Linked DNA regions of Homo sapiens: region 2 is linked to region 1. Evidence: promoter capture Hi-C in human tissues and cell types (Jung and others, 2019). All regions are on one chromosome and are shown on one strand. Each heading gives the region's core, a stretch centred on a gene start or on the middle of the fragment in contact. The rest is flanking DNA. Distances are from core to core; before and after follow the strand shown.

The links. Contacts are between HindIII fragments. The study calls those that stand out against the background at their distance.
Region 2: the fragment with the promoter of KRT16 here is called in contact with the fragment with the promoter of KRT33A in region 1 in 2 of the 25 tissues and cell types used here (mesenchymal stem cells and spleen).

What each region holds. Positions count from the first base shown.
Region 1 is chr17:41,347,464-41,353,157 of GRCh38, forward strand. It overlaps KRT33A (keratin 33A), which reads right to left and starts at 3,365. Exons shown (of 7, transcript NM_004138.4): 1 at 2,957-3,365; 2 at 1,883-1,965; 3 at 1,020-1,176. The coding sequence starts at 3,304. LOC105371778 (a long non-coding RNA gene) reads left to right here and starts at 4,034. Exons shown (of 2, transcript XR_001753056.1): 1 at 4,034-4,140; 2 at 4,959-5,694. The HindIII fragment of the contact is 5,093 bases long and covers 110-5,202 here.
Region 2 is chr17:41,611,517-41,617,682 of GRCh38, forward strand. KRT16 (keratin 16) reads right to left here and starts at 1,251. Exons shown (of 8, transcript NM_005557.4): 1 at 642-1,251; 2 at 123-205. The coding sequence starts at 1,172. RefSeq lists an enhancer at 2,282-2,830. The HindIII fragment of the contact is 12,932 bases long and covers 1-6,166 here.

The DNA of each region.
Region 1 (5,694 bases), core at 2,115-4,614:
ATTCAGTGATTTGGGCTCAAAGCTGATACATGGTGGGCCATTATTTAAACTCTGGTCCCCAAATGCCCAGTTCAGTGTTTTTGCTAGTATACCATATAGCCTCACATGTTTGACTCTTAAGCATGGATAATAAAAAGAACAGAGTCTAGCTAAAGAGGAAATACAGAATGCTTACTTCAAAATCTGCCATCCTGGCATAGAAGAGACTTAAAGGGTGATTTGTTGATTCCACCAGCATAGATTTTGCTGAAGGCAATAAGTATCTGTTTACTTCCCTGCTAAGCATAGCTTGGTACTTGGGCTTAGGCGGATTTCAGACAAATTTGTATTCAACCTCATCTCTACCACTTAATACATTGCTTCTAGAAGCTTCTTGAAGCCTCGATTTCTTCATCTTAACATGAGAACTGCCTCCGGAGTTAAAGCACTTAGCACAATGTTTGGCACATACTAAGCACTTGATTAATATTAACTGTCACCATTTACATTGTTCTTGGATTTCAGGTTGCATAAAATACACGTCTTCTTTTTTGCCCAACTGACTTAGCCATAATGGTGAGCATTTTGCTCAAGGCTGTTTCCAAGCAACACTGAACAGCAAGCAGAAAGAGCTCTGGACAGGAACGAAGAGAATTGCATTTTGTTCTAGCTCAGCCCTCTCTGCCTGATGGGCCTAGGCCATCCTGGCTTCTCCAGCTACAAATGGAGAATTGGAATAGAAGATTGCTGCTGCATGCACTCTAACCTGGGCACAGGAGAGGCTGTGGCTTCTGCCTCATTACCCAGCTTTCCTCACTACTGGGCTTGCCAACTTCCTCACTCTCATTCCTGCCTCTGGCAGAAAAATCCTAATCTCATATCACAGGTTTTTAGATTAGTCATTCTCTACATATCCCTTTTTGTATGCAGAATTACTTCCTCAGCTAATTGAGCCTCTACTGACAGCCTGTCCTGGACCCTGTGGCAGTTGTGAAACAGGTCCTGGCTAGTCTGAGCCCATCACTCTTCAGGGAACTCACCTGCTCATGGTTCTGCTTGAGGCACAGCAGCTCCTCCTTCAGGGACTCCACCTGGGCCTCCAGGTCAGACCTGCACAGGGTCAGCTCATCCAGGATCCTGCGCAGGCCATTGATGTCCGACTCCACCAGCTGCCGCAGGGACAGCTCGGTCTCATATCTGTGATCACAGGAGGGTCAGGAACAGGCTGGGCAGGAATAGGCCTGGCCTTGACTCTGCTTTGGTTTGGTTAGTCAGGCAACTAGGAATTAGGGTTTGTAGTTTTTATAGCCATCTCTTTTGTTTAGGTTTTCAGCATCGAGCTGGAAGAAAATGCACTGGTAATTTTACGTTTAAAGATCCAGTGGATAGACTTCTATATTCCTAGCTATTCAGGAGGCTAAGGGGAGAGGGTTGCTTGAGCCCAGGAGTCTGAGGATCTGAAGTTACACTGAGCTATGATTGCACCACTGCCCTCCAGCCTGGGTGACAGAGCAAGGCCCTGTCTCTAAAAAAAAGAAGAAAGCCAGTGGATTTAGGATAAAAGCTGACAAACTGTAAGACTTCCAAAATAATATGCTTCCACATTCTCCATTCTCATGAATGGGTTCTGTGCATAGGAGAACATCGGGGGCCAACACGTCTACACTAACTCACAGTACGACTAGGGGTGTCACGTCACAGAGGAGAAGAAGGAGGAAAGGAAGTCTAAGGCCTGGGGAAAGGATCTCTGAGCTACGGTGTGTGGTGGCTCTGTGAATCTTGGAGAAAGCAGCTAGAACATAGCTCAGTCACTGTTTGTTTAACTTGTGTTGACAACAGGCTAAAGGAAAGGAGGGCTGCCAGAGAAGAGAAATAAACAGCAACACCCCGCTTGCCCACTCACTTGGTCCTGAAGTCATCTGAGGCCAGCTTGGCATTGTCGATCTGCACCACAAGCCTGGCATTCTCAGACTTGCTGCACAGGATCTAGAAGGCCCAAAACATTCAAGAATGAGCAAGGACTTGGTAATTTTTCACCAATGGCAGTCCTTCCTAATTCACTTCCTTGGAAGGATCAGGATGTCTATCTTATTAAATGCTTTCTATATACAGCAGGTACTCAATGAATATTTCCAAAATTATATTCAAAAAAAGAACACCAAAATATGCAAAAAGTATAAGTAGATAATCTTTTTTCTATCCTAATGAGCAATACTGAGAAGCTGATCATAATAGTTGACATTTATGAAAAACACCTACTATGTTTCTGGCATGATACTAGGAGCTGAGGATACAAAAATTGGTAAGCACTTGATCCTGCCCTCAAGAAACTTTCAATCAAGCAGAAAAGACAAATAGGTAAACTAGCAATTGCAGGGGACTGGATCAGGGAAGAAGCCACATGTTCCCAGATGTCCCAGACAACTGGGACTACTTTGTCCTAGGTAATTTCCAATCTTCCCAATTTGGGCCAAACATTTTAGGCTCTCACTGGACACTGTGCACCAGGAGAAGCCCAGAGGCATGAAGGTGAGGACAATGAAATCAGGATAAGTAGGAACCTAGAAGAGAGAGGCAGCCAGCAGTCCAAGGGGCAAAAAGCTCAGATGAGGGAGAAAGAAAATGGCCCAGTCTTTACAAAAGATTCCGTTTCCCCAGCTTCCTTTGGACTCAGTCCTTTTCTCTCACCTCAGGGTAATAATTCTGGAGCTTGGCAGGTGCATGGAAGCATTCAGAGGTAGTTTTTAATTACAGCTCATTTATGCAAAGTGCTGCTACCTCCACATAGACTAACACTATGCAAATATTTAGACCTAACAGTCCCAAGTCTAGTATTAGATGGGCCCTCAAAAAACAAAATGGAAAGGCCAGTTTTCAGCTTTTCATTCACATCAAGAGCTTACGTTGTTTCTCAATCACAACTCGGATTCTCTCCCGACAACTTCCTACTGGAGGCACTGTGTCGCCCACTCCTCACCTTCTGCTGGAGCTCCTCAATGGTCTTGAAGTAGGACTGGTAGCTGGCACACACCAAGGGCTCCTGCTGCTGTGACCGCTCCCGGATGAGGTTCTCCAGCTCCGCGTTGTCCCGCTCCAGCTGACGCACCTTCTCCAGGTAGCTGGCCAGGCGGTCGTTCAGGAACTGCATGGTCTCCTTCTCACTGCCATTGAAGGAGCCCTCACAGAACCAGTTGCAGTTGCTCACATTGGCGGGGATGTTGCAGGCCCCGGGCAGGGTGCAGCCGTGGCAGCTGGGGGGCACACAGGGCCGGGAGGAGCAGCTGGTGCGGCAGCTCAGGCTGGGCAGGCCACAACTGTAAGACATGGTGCAGGGAGGGAGTGTCCAGCTGAAGACAGAGTCCAAAATCTCCAGGTTGTAGAGCGGTGGGTCTCCTTCCTCCAGGGAGCATTTATACCTCGTCCATGGAGGGTGTGGACACGTAAGACAACCCCTTTTTTTTTTTTTTTTTTTTGCTCATTTGGTGATTGTCAAAAGCCCTTCCCTCCATTTGTTGTGTTTCTTCAGAAGAGTCTCTCCCCTCATAAAATACTTTACTTGGGCTTCTCGCTAAGTCGGGACTCCTCTTCCATGCTGTGTGTCATGATGTAAGAGCTTCATGGTGTGACTTCAAAGACCTGGACTCATGAAAGCCCTGGCCTTCTTCAGTGGGGTGCAGCAGGTCAAGAGACAGTATTGCTGTTCTGCTTTGTGGCTTGAGGCCCCTAACTCTTTGGCAAGCTCTGGCTCTCCTTGGTGAAATGGAAAAGCATAGCTCTTGCCCTGTGTCTTTTGCTAGGTCACATTTCCAAGTGCCAAATTCCAAATTCATGGTTCTCAGAAAGAGGAATAGATCCTTTCTGGGACAGTTCCTGATGGCCATGTTTCCTGATATGATGGGCTTTTTTCATGTCCATGATGACGTCAATCAACCAAATAATAGATATCCACTATGACAATTTCATCCAGGGCGATGTAATAGACACTGGGAGGGGTGGAAAATAGGACTCAATGCTATGGTCAGAAGAAGTTCTTACTTGTTAAGAAACTGCACAAGCCCAAGGTAGTGTGGACACTTTTCACAAACTAGATCCTTTTTACAAACATGATCCTCAAACATGCAGAACTTAGATGTCCATTATTCCTCACCAGAACTCTTAAAGGTAAACTGTATAATTCCCATTTTATAGATGAGAACACCAAGGCATAGAGGGTGAGGATAATAAGTTGTGGACCTAGGATTCCAAAGCAGATCACTTTTCTTTTCATCACAACACTTGGCTTAAATATAAATGGCTTACTTCCTTCCCTTCTTCAGACAGGCCGTCCCTTTCTCCTCTCCAAGCTCTCTTTTTACCTTGAGCATGACACTGTCATGACTTATGTGCTTGTCTCTCTGTCTCTATTTGAGGTCCCTGAAGGCAAGGGCAGGGTCTAGTTTGTCTTTGAATCCCCAGCTCTAGGCACCTGGTAGGCACTGTTGAATGGGTGTGGGTAGAGTGATGAAGGGATGAACAGGAAATAATAATCTGAGGCAGAAGTTGACAAGTGATAACTGAGTGGTTTACACACTGGGGAGGGCGAGCAGCTCCAGGATTGGAGGCTCTTAGGAATGGATGAATGGATTTGTGCTGGGATAGGGAGGCTTCTAAGAAGCAGAGGGGAGAAAAGTAGGAAGTGCAGGTGAGGAGAATAATGTGCACACAGGAATGGGGTGGGAAAGCCCAAGGCATGGTTGAAGGACCAGGGTAAGTCTAGGCAGCAGGAAGGGGAGAGTTGTGAAGGGAAGTGCTAGAAATTAAAGCTTTATGGGGGATTGTATGGGGACCCTATGGTAGGGGGTCTCGATGGTGAAGTGGAGCAGCTTGGACTTCCCCAGAAGCTGTAGAGCCAGTATAAGCTTTTGAACCTAAGTGTGGTGTGACAAAAGGTGTTTTAGGAAATGTTTTAGCAAATATTTATCTGTTTTTGAAAAATGAAGGAAAGATTGGAGGCAAAGAGTTCAGCAAAGAGACTATTGCAACAGTCCATGCAAGACTAGAATTTATGGCAGGGATGATGATACAGATAAGGTTTAGTACAAGTGAGAGAGTTAGAGAACTGGGCCAAGGGAGAGTACAAAGAGAAGAGCAACAAGGAGCTGAGGACCAAACTTTGGAGAATTTCCCAATCAGAGATCAGGAGAAGGAAAAAGAATCTGTGATAAATGGAGAAATGGTGAGAAAAAAATGATAAAAACAAGTTCATGGCATCCCAGAAGGGCAGGAAGGAGGGTGCTTCCAAGAGGAGGTGATGTTAGAAGTGCCAAGTGCAGCAAAGGGGCCGCACATGATCAGGACCATGGAGAGGGTATTGGCTGCCTTGACCAGAAATTTACCAGGACCTTTCCAGGGTCACACAGGTATGCCTGCTGTACGCAGCGCCTGTGCACATTCTTAAAGTAATGCCCACAGTGAACTTCGGTAAACCAAGACTTCAAACACACAGAATTGAGATGTTCATTACTTAGAGAAGTTCTGCTGCAATAAATTTATATATCTGATTATTAAGCTTGGAGCTTTGATCTTACCAATACAGACTTTTATACAATAATTGGAGTGGGCTTTACGCAGATGCCAGACTTGTTTGAACTTGATGATTCGTAATAGTTTATTATTTAGGAACAATTATCCAAGAAGCATGAGTAATCTGAACTGACCGTGCATATGACACCACTT
Region 2 (6,166 bases), core at 1-2,500, 260 kb after region 1:
TCAGGTCCTCAGGCTGCAGCCCTGAGGATTCTGAGGCTCGGGGTCTGCTGGCCCTGCTGGGTGGACCGCCCCACTCTTTGTCCCTTGCCCTCTGCCCCCAGCCCACCATGCTGGCTGCTCACTTGGTCCTGAAGTCATCGGCTGCCAGCCTGGCATTGTCAATCTGCAAAATGGGCTGCGCATTCTCAATGGTGGCCGCAATGATCTGGAGTGGGGATGGAGGACAGGAGCCCTGGTCAGCCAAGGACCTTACTACTTGAGCATGAAAGGCAGAAAGGGGCAAAAGGAACCGCCCCAAATCTGGAAGTCTTCTGGCTGGCAGGGCTGGCATGCCTTCTCCACCAGCTCAGGCTACGTAGGGATGCACTCCATCCCGATCACCCCCTTCCTGGGCCCAAGGCAGGGAAGCTGAACTTGCAGCTGAACCCTTGAAGGAAATAAGAGATTTAGGGTAACAGCCCCAGTCCGGGCACAGAGATACTGAAAAGGGACCCTCTGCTACCACTTCCCTGGGTGATCCTGGCCACTCCCCAAAGGTGCCCAGTCTCCCTGTTTGTAAAGTGTAATTGCTAAAAAGAGGTATCCCAAGGGCCACTGTAGCCCCAGCCTCTCTCAGTGCTCCATACACCAAAGTCACCCACCTTGTTCCTCAGGTCCTCGATGGTCTTGAAGTAGGGACTGTAGTCTTTGATCTCACTGGGCCGCTGCCTCTGGTACCAGTCACGGATCTTCACTTCCAGGTCGGCGTTGGCCTCCTCCAGAGCACGCACCTTGTCCAGGTAGGAGGCCAGGCGGTCATTGAGGTTCTGCATGGTCACCTTCTCACTGCCCACCAGAAGCCCATCACCACCAGCAAAACCACCACCAAAGCCAGCACCCAAGCCACCACCGAAGCCAGCACCAAGGCCACCACCATATCCTCCCCCGAAGCCACTACCAAAGCTGCTGCTGCTGCTGAAGCCACCGCCATAGCCGCCCCCCAGCCCGCAGGCTCCCCCAGAGGAGAAGCGAGAGGAGACAGACAGGCCGCCCCCGTAGGTGCTGGGGGCACGGCAGGACCCTCCGGCCAGGACGGAGGAGATGCGGCTGGAGCCGCCCCCGATGCCGCCTCCGATGCCGCAGGAGCCCTTCATGGAGCTGGAGGAGGTGAACTGGCGGCTGCAGGTGGTCATGGTGCCAAGGAGGGAGGTGAGCGAGTGAGCAGTTGGCTGAAAGAAGGAAAGGTGCTCAGGAAGGCTGAGAGCGTGCTGTGGCTGCCTCCAACCCCAGAGACCTTTATATGCAGCTGGGGAAGGCGGGGCCCTCCTAACTGCTGACTCCAGGTTCCCCTCTGGATTTCATCACTCCCGGTCCCGTCCAACTCCTCACTCTGGATTATTCAGCCCAGGATCAACTCTGCTGTGTGCCGGCTCAGAGTTCCCACCCAGCTTTGGGGGTGTGGGGCCGAGAGAAAAACACAGAAATGCGAGTTCGGTGGTGACTCAGGCTAGGCGGTGGGGAATCAGGCTCCCTTTCCTGGAGCCCTCGGGGCCAGTCGGGCCTTGGCACAGGTGGCTTTGTGGCAACTGCGTCCCCAGGCAGTGAGTCAGCCCTTCAGAAGAACTCCCTGCCCCACAGTGACAGCCTTGGCTGAAAGAGAGCTCAGTGATGCCATCCTGGGCTGTCTTGGGGAGCAGTTGTGGGGATCCCACATGTCCCACTCTGGGCAGGGGCAGAGTTCCTGTCTTCACTCTGCTTGCTGTGTGGCCTGAGGCTCCCCACCTCCCACCTCTGGGCCTGTTTCCCCTCAGTGACCAGGCTGGACTGGGTGACTGCAGAGTCCCTTCTGTTCTAAAAATCCTATAACTCTCTTTCCCCTCTTGGATCTAATTCCAGTTCCAGAGGCTGCCTTGAGCCCCCGGGATCTCCAGAAGTGTGTGCACCATACAAACAGCACTGGCCATGGAGCTAGACAGGCGGCACTGAGTCCCTGCTCTGCCCTTACCAACTGTACAGCACAGGCTGGTCCTATAGCCCCTTGGTCCTCAGTTTTCTCATCTGTAAAAGGGGATGACACACCACTAGCCACAAAGAAACATGCGCGAAGGACCCCACCGGCCCTTCCCCGAGGGCCAGCCCTGCCCCTCAGCCTCCCCATCCTGCCCCTCCAGCCACCTGCTCCTCACACTCACCTCTACACACTGGCACCATCCCGCACCCCTAAGCAGGGCCCTGCGCCCCCCACACTCCCAGCTGAAGAACACCACAGCCCCACACCTAGCTCTGCCACTCCTCTACCGCCCTCTCCTAATCACAGGCACCCCACCTGCAGGCTGGTGGGAGGGAGCCCCATCCTGCCACTACAGCCAGGTATGACCCCTGACCCCACCTGGGCCTCAGAGTCCCCCCCTACCCTGTAGAAACAGGACTAGCCGGGGATCCGTTCCCAGCAGTTCTCTCTCCTGTGTCCACAGATCCCAGGCTAGGCCTGGCAGCTCCATTCATCCAGCTGAGCTGGGGGAGAGCACTGGTTATGGGCCCACTCAGGCATGCATGGAGAGCCCAGTGTGTGCCATACAGTTCTGTGAGCGTAGAGATTCACTCAAAGTCACTCTGCTTTAAGCTGCAGAGCTGCAACTAGAACCCAGAACTCTGGCCCTCTCCAGGCTCCCACCATGCCTGCAGGCGGGGCCAGTATACCCAACTCTCACCCACCTCCCCACGATCACTGGCAGGAGGTCTGCCCATGGTGGGCATGGCCTTGGCCTGAGAGCCTGGTCCAGCACCGAGGACTGGAGGGAGGATGGAGGGGTCTGGGCACCAAGACGGGGCCTCCTCAGGGTGCTGTGGGGCATCCCTCGGTGCTGGCCACTGGCCTTGCTCTGCAGTGTCTCTGTTGAGGTGAGGAGCCCAGAGACAGCCTGCTTCTGCCTGAGCTCCACTGGGGCAGGCAATTCCTTGTCTCAGCAGAACCAGGGTTTTGTCACTGCTACATCTCCCCTGGTCATTCATCCCAGAGGTAAGAGCAGAACGGATGCACATCCCTTCAGAGTCAAACCTGGGAGAGGGAACCTGACACTCCTCACCCCTACCCCAAAAAGGGGCAAAGGGGACCCCGGAATCTTGGACAAAAACCTCAGTGTTCAGGTGTCAGGTTGGGCCTGGAGTTCTGGTCCATCCACAGACCCATCACCCTCAGAACTGAAAATGGTCTTCAAGGTCACCAAAGGCTATTAATACCCCAACTGGAGAGAGCGAAAGCCTTATCCAGGTTAAGCAGCACAAAAGTGAGAGAGCAGAGACTCGAGCCAGCTCTAACTCCCAAGCCAGGATTCACACCGACTCTCGTAGTAGAGTCTCTGAGAACTCTTCACTCTCTGCCCCCATCGTGTGTGCATGCACACACACCCCTTTCTCATTGGCTCACTGCCCCCCACCAAGTTCCCCATTCCAGGAGGTGTCAGGGCGGGATTATACACAAGCCCAGCACTGCAGACCTGGGGATCTGCATGGGCTGAGAAGCTGCAGGAAGTTGCTGACCAACGCGCCAAACTGCTCAGCCAACTCCATAGATCACGCACCTGCTGTGTGTACAGCTCTCGGGGGCTGGGGGTGAAGAGGGAGATGATGACATAGTCTCTGACCTTAGAAGAACTTATCATTTGACCCTGGAGGGAAAACTAATGCTGGAAAATACAGAACCTGGCTAGAAACCCTGGGGTGCTGGGCTTGCCTGCCATGCCCACACCACAGGAGGCAGCTGGGGTAGGCATTGCCCCGCTGAGCCTCAGCAGTAGAGGAGGGGGCTGCCCTCCTGGCCTTGATCCCTGAAAGGGTCCTAGCAGAGAGAGGCACCAGCAGGGCCTCAGAGGATCTGAGTTGACAGAGGAGGAGGAGGAGGCGTTTCCTGTGCACCAGTGATGCACACCTGCCCCAAGGTGGCCAAGAGCCAGGACCACTAAGCCTGGTGAGCACAGAGAAGCCCAGTGGGCATCCTCCAGGCAGAGGATTCCTCCCCACACCCTGCCTCCTTCCTCCCTCCTTCGTACTGCCCATGTCAAGCATGAGGCATGAGATCATGGCATACCTGAGGCAGCCGGGAAACACCATTGGCCAATGCCACGCCTTGACTTGCAGTGATTCTCCAACCAGACAGATCGTCAGAGTCCCCATGAAGATTTGCAGCCCTGCTCCAACTCCCGCATCAGCACCGCTCAGGACAAGCCTGCTGGTGGGGCTGTTTTACAAGCTCCCCAGCCAACTCAGACTGGGAAGGCAGGAGGCAGCTTGGGGGCTAAGGAGGGGGGCAGAGAAGCTGAGGGGAGAGAGGGGGCTGCTGCAGGGCCCCCAGCCTCGGGTGGACAAGCCAGAGCCACAGGCTTCAGGGCAGGAGGAAGGAAAAGTAGAGCCCCACTGAGCCAGGACAGAGCAGCCTAGAATCGGGGCAAGCAGGGGCGAAATCTTGGGCAGGACATTCAGCCTCTCTGAGCCTCAGTTTCCTTCTCTGGGAAATGGGAATAACAGCCTTGCCTCACAGGCATATTAGGGGATTCGAGGCCAAATAAATAAAGCACCTGGAAAAGGCTGGTGGCTAGCGTTATGTTTATGAGCAGGTGTTTATAAAGTGCCTACTATGTGCCTGGCACTGTGCTGGGCACTCAGACTCAAAGAACAAGACAGAGAAGCCCTGGAGACACAGTCTTCTGGGGGAGAAGGTGGTAAAGACAATCCCAATACACTAATGTCAGGCCACGATGGGGTACTGGGGCCCTGCAGAGAAACAGAGAGAGCAGGGTCCCTGGGGGAGAACAAATGTCCAGGCCCAGGCTCTGCCCCTGTGACGGCTCCCGGGATCTGGGGAAATCTGTGAGTGCCAGGCCCACCTCTGGGGCTCCTATCCCCTCCTGCATGTTTGATGCCCCCCTTCTGAAGGTGGGGCTGTCATAGCCCTTCACAATCCAACCACAGATCTGCAGCTTCTGCCTTGATGATGGGGTGAAACATTCTGTGCATTGGGCAGGGTGGGTGTGGACGAACTGTGAGTCCCTCCATGAGTCCCATAGCTGGGTCTCCAGTCCAGCCCAGGCACATGTCCTCAGCAGCCTGGGCCCACTTGGGGTGCCTGTTCTGCACAAACAAGGAGCCCGGACTCCTGTGTGAGTCTCAGGAAACCCACAAGAGGGGCTCCCATTGCCCCCACCCCAGGAATGTGAGCAGGAAGCTGGTGCCTCCAGGGAAGGCTGCGGACCCCAGGGGGTTGTGGGAGAAAGAGTGGGCCTCTCTCAGGGATGTTTCTTCAAATGGTCACTACAGCTCAGGGTGAGGACGGGCCTCTGTCCAGCTCAGTTATCCCCTCAGCTCTGTGCATGGGGGGAGACCTGCCTGGCTCTGTTCCCTCTGTTCCCCTCATCTCCCCAAAACCTGGGTTGCCACAAGAGACCCACACTGCATAAAGGCTGAGGGACTGTTTTCAGTCCCTCAGGTCCCCTCGGGGCAGGCACTATCTCTTGGGGTCAGGACCGGTGTCTCCTCCTTCCCCTGGCAGGATGTCCTGCAGGGAGATGGATGTAGTGGGGGACACTCATCTCCCCCTGGACATGCTACCAGGTCAGCCCCTGCAAGGGGGATCCAGAGGTAGGCTACCACTGGCATGGACCTGGCCTGAGAATCATATGTGTGTGTCCATCACTCAAGACCAGGTGTGGCAGCTCCAAGGGCAACCACAGATCTGCAGCTTCTGCCTTGATGACAGGGTGGAACATTCTGTGCAGTGGGCAGGGAGTGTGTGGATGAACTGTGAGTCCCTCCATGAGTCCCATAGCTGGGTCCCCAGTCCACCCCAGGCACATGTCCCCAGCAGCCTGGGCCCACTTGGGGTGCCTGGACAGACAAAGCCGCTCAAGTCTCCCCACCATCCCCTGGCTCAGCTGTCTGGGCACACCGGGGGGCTCCCCCATTCTGGCATCCTGAGCCCCCCACCCACTCACTTTGTGGAGAAGGGTTTCTTCCCCAGCAGAGGGGCACAGTCTGGGGCCGTCTCTGGTCCTCCCCACACTCTGACCCCTCCTCACTTGTCCCATCAGTAATTGTGGACCCCAGGATCTACAGAGGGGAGAGAGAGCCCTGCCTGGAACCTGAGGTGGGGCAGGAGGTGGGGCTGGGCTCCTCTTCCCGGCACGGAAGCGGG